Linked DNA regions of Homo sapiens: all the other regions are linked to region 3. The links are contacts of gene promoters, found by promoter capture Hi-C in blood cells and fetal thymus (Javierre and others, 2016). All regions are on one chromosome and are shown on one strand. Each heading gives the region's core, a stretch centred on a gene start or on the middle of the fragment in contact. The rest is flanking DNA. Distances are from core to core; before and after follow the strand shown. Region 1 overlaps DLEU1 (deleted in lymphocytic leukemia 1). Region 2 overlaps DLEU1 (deleted in lymphocytic leukemia 1). Region 3 holds the start of RNASEH2B (ribonuclease H2 subunit B).

Region 1 (4,503 bases), core at 1,418-3,917, 540 kb after region 3:
ATTAAAATATATAAATCCTTGATGCATTTGGTGCACAGTGAAGGGTGTAATTGTGTGTGTGTTTGTGTGTCTGTGTGTGTGTGTTTGCAAATGGCCACCCAATTATCTCACTCTTTATAGAATAAACTACTCCAACTGGCCTTCCACTCCACCACCCACTTTATCCCTTTACCCTTCATCTTTATCCTCTTCAAATAGCTCTTGTGGAAGTTGAAATGCATTCGGTCGTGTATCTTCCTCTCTTCTTTTCAAAGAGGTCTGTACCAATATTATCACTTGCCTAAAGAGTTTTTTTATTAACACTCAAATTAAAACTGCAGAAGGGAAGCCCTACAACTCTTAGAGCCTCCTGAACGCTACACAAAGCTTGCCTAGGTGGAGAGCTGAACAGCAGGGTGCCCAAGTCCAACTTTGACAAGAAGGGAAGCTTGGGCTTTGCTAGGACAGCAGGTCAGGAACCTTCCCGGGACATAACTCCTAAAGTGGGGCTTCCCAGGAATAGTGCTGGGGGCTTTAAAGAGACTTTCTCCCAAACCCAATCCAGAGGCTGAGGTTGATCTGCCCACCCCTGTGCTCTGCATACTGCAGATCCTAGAGCAATTTCTGCTAACAAAGCTAGTCCTGTGAGGAATCCAGCTGTGTCTTGCAAGCCATTTTCACAATATTATTTTTCAAGTCCCTTGTTGGATCTTAAGAGAGGAATTTCAGGGAAGGGAGAGGAAAGAGTGTCAAGGGTTTAAGTTCACACCTTATTATGCTTTTACTACTCTTCATAGTCACATTTTAACAATTCGTGGTAAGAAATAAATACTTTGGCTCTTGGCGGAATAATTCCAAGTTACTCTTCGCCGCTCAGCTCTCCCTGGCTCACGGGTCAAGCCTTTCTCTCCAATAGGGAGTCCTCCATTCTTCTCATCTCACACCTCAATTCCTAGAACAGCCTCCTCACCAATTTTCTTCCTTCATTCCTCCCACTCTACTCCATGCCACACATATCTGTCAGAATAATCTTCTAAGAATCCTACTTACATCATGAAACTAATTTAATTATTCCCGCTTCTCTCTCCCTCCCCACCTCTCCAGGCTCAGTCTGAGTTCTATCTCCTCCCTGAACTGTTGCGCAGTGGCCCCAGTCCCTAGAGACCTTTGCTCTTCAATGCTGCCATACCAGGGCTAATATTCATGGGGTACAGATTGTCCACTCCCACAGTGTGTTCTGATGGGATTGGCATCCATCGCAATCCAGTCTGATGCCTGTGCAGTACTGGCTGTTAGAAATTTTGACAGATATTTTGACTGTCTTCCTTGTCTACAGCATCTATTGTCTGGATCACTCATCTTGGTATAAACTACACAGCCTTGCTATTTAAATATTCCCAATGTGCATATGTTTTTACTTTCCTACCAGATTGTGATTCATTCTCTGAGGGCAGCCATTCTTGCACCCAATCCCCAGGAAGGAGCCCAGAAGCACGTGCCAAGCTGGTCCCTCCAACACTGGCTAGAGGAATCAATGGATGGAGTAAATAACTAATTTACAATAAAAATTTAAACACTGCACTTACTTCCCATCATCCAGCCTACAAATTTTAGAGCCTCCTGCCTTGCCTTAGTGTACCCACCTCCAACACACTCCACCTGTCTTCTGCCCTCTCCCTCTTACTGTTTATTATTCCCTGAATGTGCACGCCCCGCCTGGCTGTCTCCCTCACACACTGAAAATGAAGTCCCTCTGGATGCTGCCCAGTGACAGTCCCTCCTCCCCTCTGTGTGCTCTGGACTTCCTACACTGAAACTTGAAAGTTATTTCTGAGAGACTTTAAATTTCCACTCAAGATTCCAACAAGTCAGAGTGTTCTGGGCAAAGCATGGATGCCAAGGAAGATACCCCAGTTTCATGGCTGACAAGCTTTATTGACGACTTATTTTAACTCTAGCTGAAGAAGACCATGAAACTAACCACCCCGTTTAAAACTGAAAACACACTCTCCTTGCTCGCAGCCCTCCCAATCTTCTTCAATCTGTTCTGTTTCTATATCACTCATCTCCTTCTAATAGCTTATGATTTACATATTTAATCTGTTCACTGTTCATGTCCCTGAACTAAAACATGAGCTCCACAAGGGCAGAGATTTTTTAAATTGTGGTGAAATACACATAATATGAAATTTACTATTTTAACCATTTTTAAGTGTACAATTCAGTGGCATTGAGTACATTCACACTGTTGTGCAACCATCACCACTATACGTCTCCAGAACTCTTCATCTTCTCAAACTGAAGCTCTGTACCCGGTAAACACTAACTCCCCACTTCCCCTTTTTGCCAGCCCCTGGCAACCACTCTTCTACTTTCTCTATGAATTTGACTGGTCTAGGTACCTCATATAAGCAGAACCATATATTTGTCTTTTTGTAACTGGGTTATTTCACTTAACATAATGTCATCAAGGTTCAGCCATGTTATAGCATATGTCATAATTTCCTTCCTTCTGAAGACTTAATAATATTCCATGTGTGGTAAATGCATATAGGCTACATCTTATTTATCTATTCACCTGTTGACGGGTACTTGCATTGCTTCTACCTTTTGGTTAATGCTGCTATGAACATGAGTCTACAAATATCTCTTCAAGATCCTGCTTTCCATTCCTTTGGGTATATTTCCAGAAATGGAATCATTGGATCATATGGTAATTATATTTTTAATTTTCTGAGGATCTACCATACTGTTTCCCATAGTACCTGTGCCATTTTACATTCCCACCAACAGTGCACAAGCGTTTCAATTTCTCCACATCCTTGTCAACACTTGTTACTTTCTGAAATGGCAGGGATTTCTGTCTATTCTATTTGCTGGTGTATGCTAAGCATGAAGAACAGGGCTTGACATGAAGTCAGCACCTGATAAGTATTCATAGAATTCAACTGTAGAACTGGTGTTGACAAGTGGCCCAGGATGGCCGGGGTTTGAACCTTGGCTTACACACTCAGACACTCCACATGGACACATTATTTGGCCTCCCTGAAGTTCAGGTTGTCATTCATCTGCAACAGCACCTATCTTGAAGGGTGTTGTCAAAGCCCAATAAGATGAGAGATGTAAAGCTCCCTGCCCACTGTGTCTGATACAGGACTCTCTTGCACATTTCCTTCCTTCCACACTGATTCTCTTGAACAGCACATTAAGCTGACTTGGAAAAAGACTATCAGTAATCAAGTTTGGTTAGAGAGAAGTCATTGTCTTTTTTGGTTAAGTTTCATTTGATCACCTCTTGATTTGTGAATCTAAGAGAAATCCCATCGACCCACAACCTCCTACACTGCCTTTTTTCTTCTTCGTAGCACATATCATTACTTGAAAGTATATGCAATGTCTATTATTTTTATCTGTTTATCCATTTTCTCTACCGGAACACAAGCTTCAGGTAGGAAAGGTCTTTGTTTTTCTTGACTACTGCCACATCTACAAGGCCCAGAACAATGCCTGCAACATAAAAAGTCTCAAGAAATATTTGTTAAATGAAGAATTCATTTAAACAGTTACTAATCACCTGTACAGGTATAGGCACTATGCTTACTACTGGGCATCCTATATAAATAAAATACAATTCCTGCCCTCAAGGATCTCACAGTTTAATTAAAAGATGATTATAAACAAATTATTAAATATAGTTTGAGATGCACAGTAAAGGAGCAGGTAAAAAATTATACAAAGAAAAAAGGTATTAAGTCTATCTGGAGGATGTTGTCAAAGAAGGCTTTCATAGGAAAGTGTCCCTTATGAATATTTTGAAGATTAACTAGGGTTGTTTCAGTAGGAAAAGAAGGAAAGGGCATTGTCAATTTAAGTGATAGTTAAGGTCACAAAGACAAGACACATAAGGCTTTATTGTGGAAACAACAAGTAATTTTGTGTAACTAGATATAAAGCTAAAGGGACAGTGTGATGCAACAGGAGCCCAGAGCCCAGAGGGGGCATAAATCATGGAGGCTTATTCAAGCATCATGCTTAGACTTGATGCTATAGATGATCAGAGCCACCAAAAGGCAACACACAAATAGATATTTATTTTAAGGAATCTATATGGCCCTGGTATGGCTGGAGGCCAGTTGGGAACCCCAGAGCTTCCTGGAGGACACCCACCATGGGGATTGGACCAAGCATTCCATTTTCATTCTCTGGGGGCTACAATGGGCTGCTAGACTGGCAGCTGGGTGCTGGACTCAAATTTGAGTCTTCTCATCTTCAAACTCTTCATCTTCTCAAACTGAAACAGCAAATTCTGAGAGTCTGAATCTCTGTTCTGACACTTTAAAGAACACTTTTTCAGGGTCCTAGTCACTGGGGTTTTAGAGCGGCTGCTTGAGTTAGGGTAGTTATATAGAATGTGGAATAAATAGCCATTGGACCTTTGGCTTTAACATTACACATTTCAAATTCTGTTTTATCTATAGAACTAACCTGGCCTATACTTGTGTTGACCCACTAGTAAAAAAGAGA
Region 2 (4,343 bases), core at 739-3,238, 640 kb after region 3:
GCTGACCAGTGGCCAAGTTAGCATTCCAGTTAAGGTCTGTCCAACTCCAAAATAACATGCTCTTTCATCTGTGCCACTCGGCCTCTCACCTCAACCTTCTGTTCCACATGCTTCTCTGTAGAAGCACAGACTGTAGCCCTAGCCACTCCTGTGCTCCCTTCAATCCTGTTCCAGCCTAGAGTCATCAAGGAAGGTAGATTCCTCTCTCTGGCCCCATGACTATAACCTTGACTTCTATTTAATGTTTAATGTACAAGGGTCAAGGAACAGTAATGTAAAAAATAATGATATTAAAATAAAACAGGAGGCAAGCAATGTGATTGGGCTCTCTCACTCTCAATCTCTCTCTCTCTGTCTCGGAGCCTACAGATATCTAATATAAGTCCCTTGTGGTGAGAAGGTACCAGGAGGGCTGCTAACAGTAAATTGGGAGTGGGTGTGGCAAAATGCAAAAGAAAGAAAACTGCTAAAAAAGACTGGCCATATGTAGCAAATTATAAGTTATCTGGCTGCAAATATAATTTCTGCACCCAGGGCCAGTTGGGGAACACACCTCAGACACACTATAAGAACCCCTGGGTAAGACTCAGTGAAGGTCCCAACAGGGCAACCAAACAAAACCATTCTAAGGTGTGGATCTTCTCCAGGATTGATGCCACTGTGAACAGTGGGTCTAGAGGCTGACAAACTGGTGTTAACAGAGGTAATGATGTTACATATTTTGGGGCTCCCTCATAACAGGCCGTTCAGCTTCGGCCTGTAAAAAGTTAACATCCTGGCATGATCCAAACGTTGGAGATTTCTGAAAATGTACAGAAAGGTTCCATTCACCTAAAGTTATCGTTACTAAAGACCACAAACCAAGAAACAAAGGAACTTCCTGCACTCTCAGTAACAAGACCACCTTATGTAAGAACACACACCATCCACATCCCACCCCCAAGAATGCTTTCTGCAAAAGTGGAAGAAGCTGGGAAGTGTGTGCTGTGGCTTCAAAGTCCCTTCTCCACAAACTGCTTTCTTCGTTATCCTGAAACAGCCTGAAATTCACACATCACACTCCCCTTTGGAATAACACCCCCAAAGGATCCTGTTAGGGTGTAAACTTTATCTTGAAGAATTAAACCAAAAAGCTAATACTATCTATGAACATCACAGGGTCAAAAAGGTTATTGGAATAGCTCTTGTTATTAAAAAAGGAAGAGACCCAGAGATTCCTGGGACTCCAGTAAGAGACCATTACTACCCCGAGAACACACCAGTTCTAGCAAAGCCCTACTGTCTTCATACTAGCGGGGCTCACCAGAGAAAACATAAATCACGTGAAACCCAGCACAACAGCAGATACCACTCTTTATAACCAAACACCTGTTTCCACCACTTACCAGTACCTCTTGTAGTTTTATCTAGTTAACTCCAGACATACACTTCCTTCCTTTCTGCCTTTCTCTCCCAGGTTTGCAGTTAAGTGTCAACAGGGCAGGGGAGGGGGTCGGGCGCGGTGGCTCACGCCTGTAATCCCAGCACTTTGGGAGGCCGAGGTAGGCGGATCAGTTGAAGCCAAGAGTCAAGACCAGCCTGGTCAACATGGTGAAACCTCGTCTCTACTAGAAATACAAAAATTACCTGGGCGGTGGCACACACCTAATCCCAGCTACTCAAGAGGCTGAGGTACGAGAATCACTTGAACCCAGGAGGCAGAAATTGCAGTGAGCTGAGATCGCACCACTGCACACCATCCTGGGTGACAGAATGAGGTGTGTCTCTAAATCAATCAATCAAACAATCAATCAATCAATAAAACAGGAAAGGAGGGAGTGGAACCGGTTCCACTAGGGCTAGCCTCTAAAAGGAAGGGGGCTTTATTCTTAGCATGTATGACAAGGACTTCCCTGTCAGGTGCTCCCGGCACCCTGGCCCCTCAAGCTGCAAAGGTTTCAGAAAATCAAACATGACTTATCTTCTCCAAGTCTGCAGACCTTAGATATATATCCAATACAACACAGGATTTGTTTTGACATTAAGTGATTTTTCAGTAGTGTTTCTGTTAGGTGAAGTGAGCTTTTGCTGAATTTGTGCTTCTGCAGGCTTTCACTATTTTTTGACACATGGATGAAGATACTCCCAAACTTTCACTTCCCTGGAGACTGGGACACCCACAAGGCTCCACCACAGAAACCAAGTCAGCCCAGGCTCTTACCTCCAAGTGGTTTCTGCCCTTTTGAGATTTTATTCTATATTTTAGGGTATCATAACTTGGTAAAATATTTTAAATTCTTTTTTAAATTAGGCAGTGTAAAAGCCATGAAATAAATGATAACTGGGGAGGTTATAAACCACATTTCTCTACAGGTAGAACATGCCACAAGTATGGTGTAGTGAAAGGGGGCTGGGAAGGGAGCCAGGGGGTCAGAGGCCAGGTGACCTCCCGGTGTGGGAGGATCGGCTGGGTGGTGCCGAGACATTCAATCCCTCAGGGCCTGCGTCTTATGCCTCTGTAGTGAAGAGAGGAGTGGGGAGTTCTCTGAGGACTATTCCAGACACCTGGTTCTATAATTGGAAGGATTTATTAAAGGGCATCTTTCTACTTCTTCTCTTCAGAAATCCTTTTCATCTAAGGTATGTGTCTCAAATGAGTAGCAGAGGCAAGACGTGATGACATCAGGAAAGACTGTGCAAGTAGGGCTGTGCAGACGTCAGGAGCACCACAAAACGTCGAGGCAGTTTCTGACTTAAAATCCCAGCACTTTGGGAGGCCAAGGCAGGCAGATCTCGAGGTCAGGAAATCGAGACCATCCTGGCTAATGTGGTGAAACCCCATCTCTACTAAAAACACAAAAAATTAGCTGGGCATGGTGGCGGGCGCCTGTAGTCCCAGCTACTCTGGAGGCTGAGGCAGGAGAATGGCGTGAACCCGGGAGGTGGAGCTTGCAGTGAGCCGAGATCACGCCACTGCACTCCAGCCTGGGCGACAGAGTGAGACTCCGTCTCAAAAATAAATAAATAAATAAATAAATAAATAAATAAATTCTTCACACTGAAATCGAACTGACCATCAGAAAAGGTGCTATGTCCATGCACCTACAATCATCTCCTTTTCTCCCCCTCTTTGCAATCATTGCCCTTAGTACAAGTTGATGGTGGGTGTGCTGCTACATGTGGATACGGCTGATTGGCCTGGTAATGAATGAGCTTGGTGGCTTTGCCCATGCTGGGAAAAATGCTGAAAACACTGAACAACCAAGGCAGGGCTTTAGCCGATCAGATGGACACCCAATCAGCAGCACAGTTGCAGGCTGGGATGCCACATGCCTGGGCCGTACCCCATCTCACATTCCTCTTCCCAGGGGAAGGAGGACACAGAGATATCATTGGGTGGTGCTGGCCCTGGTGACACCAGCACATTTTAGTGACAGAATCTACTTGCAAAAACTGCTATAACCCACAAGACAGTCGACTCGAATAAGGAGACAATATGTTTATAAAATATGGACTGTATCTATTTATCTATCTTCTATTTTAATATTACAAGAACTCATAAAACAAAAACTAGATTCTTAACAATAACCTCTGCCTAATTATATGGTTCCTCGATTCCATTCACTTGGCTCTACCCATGTGAAATAACAGTCATTCTAAATCCTATGTTCAGTACTCCCTTGCTTTTTGTGATGTAAGTTTTATTGCATTTATATTTATTCAAAAAATAATAATATTTTCAGCCAGGCGCGGTGGCTCACGCCTGTAATCCCAGCACTTTGGGAGGCCAAGGTGGGCGGATCACCTGAGGTCAGGAGTTCACAACCAGCCTGGCCAACATGGTGAAACCCCGTCTCTACAAAAAAAAAAAAATACAAAAATTAGCCAGGTGTGGTGGTGCATGCCTGTAATCCCAGTTACTCCGGAGGCTGAGGCAGGAGAATCGCTTGAACCCAGGAGGCAGAGGTTGCAGTGAGCCAAAATGGTACTATTGCACTCCAGCCTGGGCAACAAGAGCGAAACTCCATCTCGAAATAAATAAATAAATAAATAAAATAGTATTTTCATTTTGGTTGGTTTTGACATATAAAACAACGTATGACATATAAAAGTATAGCGTTTTGTGTGTGTTCTTTTGGAACGTCTTTTAGCTTAATATTATATTGCTAAGATTCACCCACATTGTTGTACTTAAAGATCATTTTTAAAGTAATGTATATTTTCTGATAAAAAGAAATGATGCTCATTGGAGAAATTTTGGAAAACACAGAAAATTTCAAGAAAGAAAATAAAATTCTCCATAATCCTGTATTTCTTTTGATCTTTGTCTGTCCAGTGCACACAGTATTTTTTTTCTCACAAAA
Region 3 (4,644 bases), core at 2,049-4,548:
AACCAACGTCCCAAGTCTGCATATCTCACAGTATCTCTTCCAAGTTCCAGATTTGTTTATCTGAGATAGCCAGCTTCTCCAAACAAACTGAAAACTAGAGGCAAAGATACCTAAATCAAACATTTAAATATATCCTTCAAGATATAACACAGTGCTGTGGCAGGCAACTCGATGAACAGCATGAATTAAATGTTGGAAAAAAGTATCATTGCAAGGTTAGGCATCTTTACCCTTGTCTCACGGATAAATCCCTTTAAAGTTCTGTTGGCCTGTGGGTTCATGTGCTCACTTTTCAGTACACAAAGTAAGTTCTTCAGATCCCAAGTTTTCTAAAACCGAATACAAGCCGCCTCCGCCAAATACTTTTGAAAAATGTTTAATAATCTTTGTTTTCTTTATTAAGGGCCCAGCTTTACTGGAGTATGGTGCTCCCTCAGCCAAGGGCATATCGTTTCCAACTCCCGAATGGGTAACTAAGCAGGCTGATTTCTCATCTTCTGGAAAAGACGACAACTACATCTGGGAAGATGAGCCTCACACTCTGCACTTACATGCACTTCCTTGACCATATAAATTCTGGCCCACCACAAAGAGGGCCAAACATGAGGCTTGTCATTCTTATATCCCAATCTAGTTCCCAAAGTCTTTACTGCAGTGGTTCCTGGGGTGGGGGCAGTGGTTTCCGGACCAGCAGCATCAGTATCTCTTGGGAACTTGTTACCAATGCACATTCTCTGGCCCCAGCCCAGGACCTACTGAACCAGCACCTCTGGGAACTGAGGCCCAGCTCCCCAGGTAAATGATGCCCTCAAGTTTGAGAACTAGTGTTGCACTGCAGTCGCTGTCAAACCTTGTTGTACCCTCAGAGCCTGCAGGTGGCGCTAAAGGCCAGAAGGAAGAATTGCAGGAGCTGGTAGCTCAAGTTTTTAACTGTTAAGAGTTCCTGCCCCCCTGACCACACAGCTCTTTCTAGCAGTTCCAACAGCTGCTCAGCCTCCCCCAATGCCTTAAAAGGTCACAGTAGATCTCAGCTCTGAACAGAAACTCAACTGAAACTCTTCCCACAACCCAGCAGTAGATATATTAAAACCTACAATTTTCAGGGATACAATCAATATTTAATTCTTTTGAGGGTTTTGTGTTTAATACAAGGACACAAACACACGTATAAAATGACGATGTCAATACTGATTAAACAGAACAACAAAATAAGAAGCTCAAATTATCATCAGCTATTGTGTATATCTGAAATAACAATAATGCACTTGATTCTGAAAGAATGATTAGAGTTCCTACTCTGAAAATCTAATTGTCTTGATGTGACGAAGTGAGAAGAAAGGATGATTTTTCTAATGAAAAGCATGTATACGGGTAGCCCTTTGCGAGATTCTGTCAAAACCCTGAATTTTGCATTAGCTGTTTTACCACCCAAACGTTTTTACCGAGGATGTGCAGCAATGGGAACTCTCATACACTGCTTGTGGGAATATAAATCAGTATAACCACTTTGGAAAACCATTTAACATTGTCAACTACAGCTCTACACACAAGTACTAGAACCAGCCATTCCACTCCAGGGTATACACCCTAGAGATATGAGTGCCCATGTCTACCAAAAGCCGCCTAAAGGAATGCTCTGAGAAGTGTAACTTGTAATAGTTGCAAACTGGAAACAACCCAAATGTCCATCCACAGTAGAGATACATAGTATGGATACTCATACAATTAAACAGAAGCAGCAATGAAAAAACTAACCAACCAACCAAACAACTGCTACAACATGAATGAATTTCACAACAAGGATGAATCTTTCAGAGTGAAAGAAGCCAGACACAAAGGGTACACTCTTATTCAAACAGGCAAAACTAATCTCTGGTGACAGAGGTCAGCATAGAGGTTCCTGGGGCTATCTAGGAACAGGCATGAGGCGTTATTGGAAACAGTCTACATCTTGAACTGGGGGATGGTTACTAGGGTGGTGTATACGTATGAAAAGTTCAGTGAGTTGCATACTTAAAATCCGTACACTTTATGTATGTTTTATTTTTAGAGGCAAAAAATATTATTGACAGCCTGTCATGTAAACATTTTCAATAACCATCATAAAACTCTAAATTCCTGGGAAAGAATATTGTTATCAGAGTATATTTACTGCCACAAACACTGCATTTGCTGAGCTAAAGTCAAAACTTAATACAGGGAACAGGAGATGTTCCTTTTTTCCAATGTTACATATATAAAAAGACCAAACCTTTCTGGCTTGCACTCCCTAGGCCAAATTCCTTTAACTGTGTCATTTAATCGGTCCTTCCTTGTGTGGCACTGGCTGTCCACTGTCCCAAGCCCTCGCATGTCCTGGATGGCCGGTCATCATCCACACGGGGGCTGAAAGGCCCGGCTCCAGCACTCCTGTGGTCATCATCCTGCTGAATCGCTTTGAACTACCCTTGGCCTAACCGCGACTCCCATCCCGCTTCCCTCCTGCCTCGCCACTGCAGGCCTGTCCCTTTGCTTTCTTAAAACTGCGCACCGTCTGAGGCCACTTCGAGCCTACTGGATCCCTGGTTCCAACCCAGTAGGATCACAGAAGCAGGGCCAGCTGCCAGGTAGGGGACACCAAGGGCAGAAACCTCCGGGGCCCGCAGCGCACCGGTGACCGCGAACCCGCGTGGCTCCCCTCAGGCTGAGTCGGCTTCCACCCTCCCACCCGAGCCACCGGGGATCAGGGCCCGGGAAACACGCTCGGTCCTTTTCGGCGCTTCCGGGTTTGAAAACCGCGGCTTGCTATGACGTGTGACCAAAATGCGGGGCCAGCTGTCCCAGAGAGAATCCCATCCCGCGCCGGGCCGGGTAGTGGGAGCCACCGGGGTGGGGGGCGGCGCGCCCGGGGTCGCGGGCCGCTCCGCCAGTTCTTGGGCCGACCCCGCCGCCCGGGCGCGCGTGTTTACCTGAAACCAGGAACACGTGCTGCCGGGCGCCAACCCCGTCCCCGCAGTCCACGCCAGCGGCCATGCCGCCCGCCTCTTCCGGGGCGCCGCAGGCTCAGCGCCGCGGGCCTCAGTCTCCCAGCCCCGCCGAAAATGGCGGGAGAAGGGTCTGTTCCGGGTGGCGCGGCGCGCTGAGGGACCGGCAGCGCCCGGGAGGAGGCCCAGGGACCGAATTTCGTTTCGTTTCCGAGACCAGCCTGCTGCTCGTGTTACGTTTTTAAATTTAGCGCCAGGCGAGGGGCTCTGAATGCCGGCCGGTGGCCGCAGGCAACGGGAAGGGGCCGCGGCCTCTCCCTCGCGGCTCCGCTAGTGGTAGGTGCTCATCGCGCGCCGCAGGGCGCCGAGTGACGCGGAGCGGGGCGGGGTCGCCGGGGCCCCGCGCTCTGTGGCTGCACCCAGCGGCCCTCCATGGTCTAGCCAGCGGGCTAGGATTGGGTCTGCGGGGTGTGTGCCCGGACAACGGGTGACGCCCGCCACACCCCCGGGGCCGGGGGACTCACCTGGAGCTAGTCCGTGTTAAGGACAATAGCAGTCACATCGGAATCCGAATGCAACTCTTAGCCATGGTCCTCAATTATTTGTGAATATATATTGGTCATCAGTTGCATTCTGTGTTGCTATTGATGTGAGAATATGTGTGCATTGTGAGCTACAAGGGATGTCCTCAATTTGGACTCCGTCCTCATCACTAAAAGAGGTGCACAGTTTTGGGCTCAGAATATGAATTTGTTGTTTTGGAGAACGCTGTATACTGAGTTAAAAACTTAGACATTTATTTAAAAAGTGATGTTTAAAAAGTTAGAGCCATGAAATTTGGGGATTTAAACTTTTAAAAATAACATTTTAATTGAAAAGTGTTGTTTGGTACATGGTTTTTAAGAAGAAAGTACATATTCCTTTCATACTTTAGAGAAAAGCACGGGCCAGGCGCAGTGGCTCAGGCCTGTAATCCCAGCACTTTGGGAGGCCGAGGCGGGCGGATCGCCTGAGGTCAGGAGCTGGAGACCAGCCTGACCAACAAGGTGAAACTCCGTCTCTACTGAAAATACAAAAATTAGCTGGGTGTGGTGGTGCACATCTGTAATCCCAGCTACTACGGAGGCTGAGGCACAAGAATCACTTGAACCCAGGAGATGGAGGTTGCAGTGAACCGAGATCCCACCACTGCACTCTGGCCTGGGCTACAGAGCTGGACTCTGTCAAAAAAAACAAAAACAAAAAAATCCACAAAAACCTATTTTTTTTTTTTTTAAAGAAAAGCATGATGTATCTCTTTTATCCCAGATCCCAGGGGTAACTGTTAACATTTCTTCTCTATTCTTGCAGAATTTTTCCATGCAAAAACAAGTTAATGTCTTATTTTTGCACAATTGAAAGAATAATATACATAACTCATGCACTTTGCTTTTCATGTTTAATCTTGAAGATAGTTAAATTTAGCAGCACTAAATTTATCTCGGCCCTCTGAAAAGGTTTTTAACTTCAAACCTGTTTCCCATGGGGTGAGACCAATACAGCTGCAGTTGATTGCAGGACACAGCTGGTGGAGAAGAGGCCTTTCTGGCTGAGGAAAGGCGCCTCTTGCCAGTTTTGGGGCAAGGAGCAGCAGATTGGTACTGCTCTGATCTTCCCTCTCCCCCAAAACGACTGTAGAAGA

What was found. The method cuts DNA at HindIII sites, captures the fragments that hold promoters and counts their contacts. A CHiCAGO score of 5 or more calls a contact.
Region 1: a fragment that was not itself captured here is called in contact with the fragment with the promoter of RNASEH2B in region 3 in 1 of 17 cell types (activated CD4 T cells); the score reaches 6.0 in activated CD4 T cells.
Region 2: a fragment that was not itself captured here is called in contact with the fragment with the promoter of RNASEH2B in region 3 in 1 of 17 cell types (fetal thymus); the score reaches 5.2 in fetal thymus.

Annotation. Positions count from the first base shown.
Region 1 is chr13:50,368,306-50,372,808 of GRCh38, reverse strand. The region is part of intron 2 of DLEU1 (deleted in lymphocytic leukemia 1); the gene reads right to left. Among named protein-coding and RNA genes, the nearest start is that of DLEU1-AS1, 160 kb to the left of the region's middle. The HindIII fragment of the contact is 1,512 bases long and covers 1,912-3,423 here.
Region 2 is chr13:50,263,807-50,268,149 of GRCh38, reverse strand. All of the region lies in intron 2 of DLEU1 (deleted in lymphocytic leukemia 1), which reads right to left. Among named protein-coding and RNA genes, the nearest start is that of DLEU2, 140 kb to the right of the region's middle. The HindIII fragment of the contact is 9,440 bases long and covers 1-4,343 here.
Region 3 is chr13:50,908,445-50,913,088 of GRCh38, reverse strand. It overlaps RNASEH2B (ribonuclease H2 subunit B), which reads right to left and starts at 3,298. Exons shown (of 11, transcript NM_024570.4): 1 at 2,949-3,298. The coding sequence starts at 3,012. It overlaps RNASEH2B-AS1 (RNASEH2B antisense RNA 1), which reads left to right and starts at 2,377. Exons shown (of 3, transcript NR_046552.1): 1 at 2,377-2,606. RefSeq lists silencers at 2,544-2,593, 2,804-3,043, 3,054-3,483. The HindIII fragment of the contact is 8,311 bases long and covers 1-4,644 here.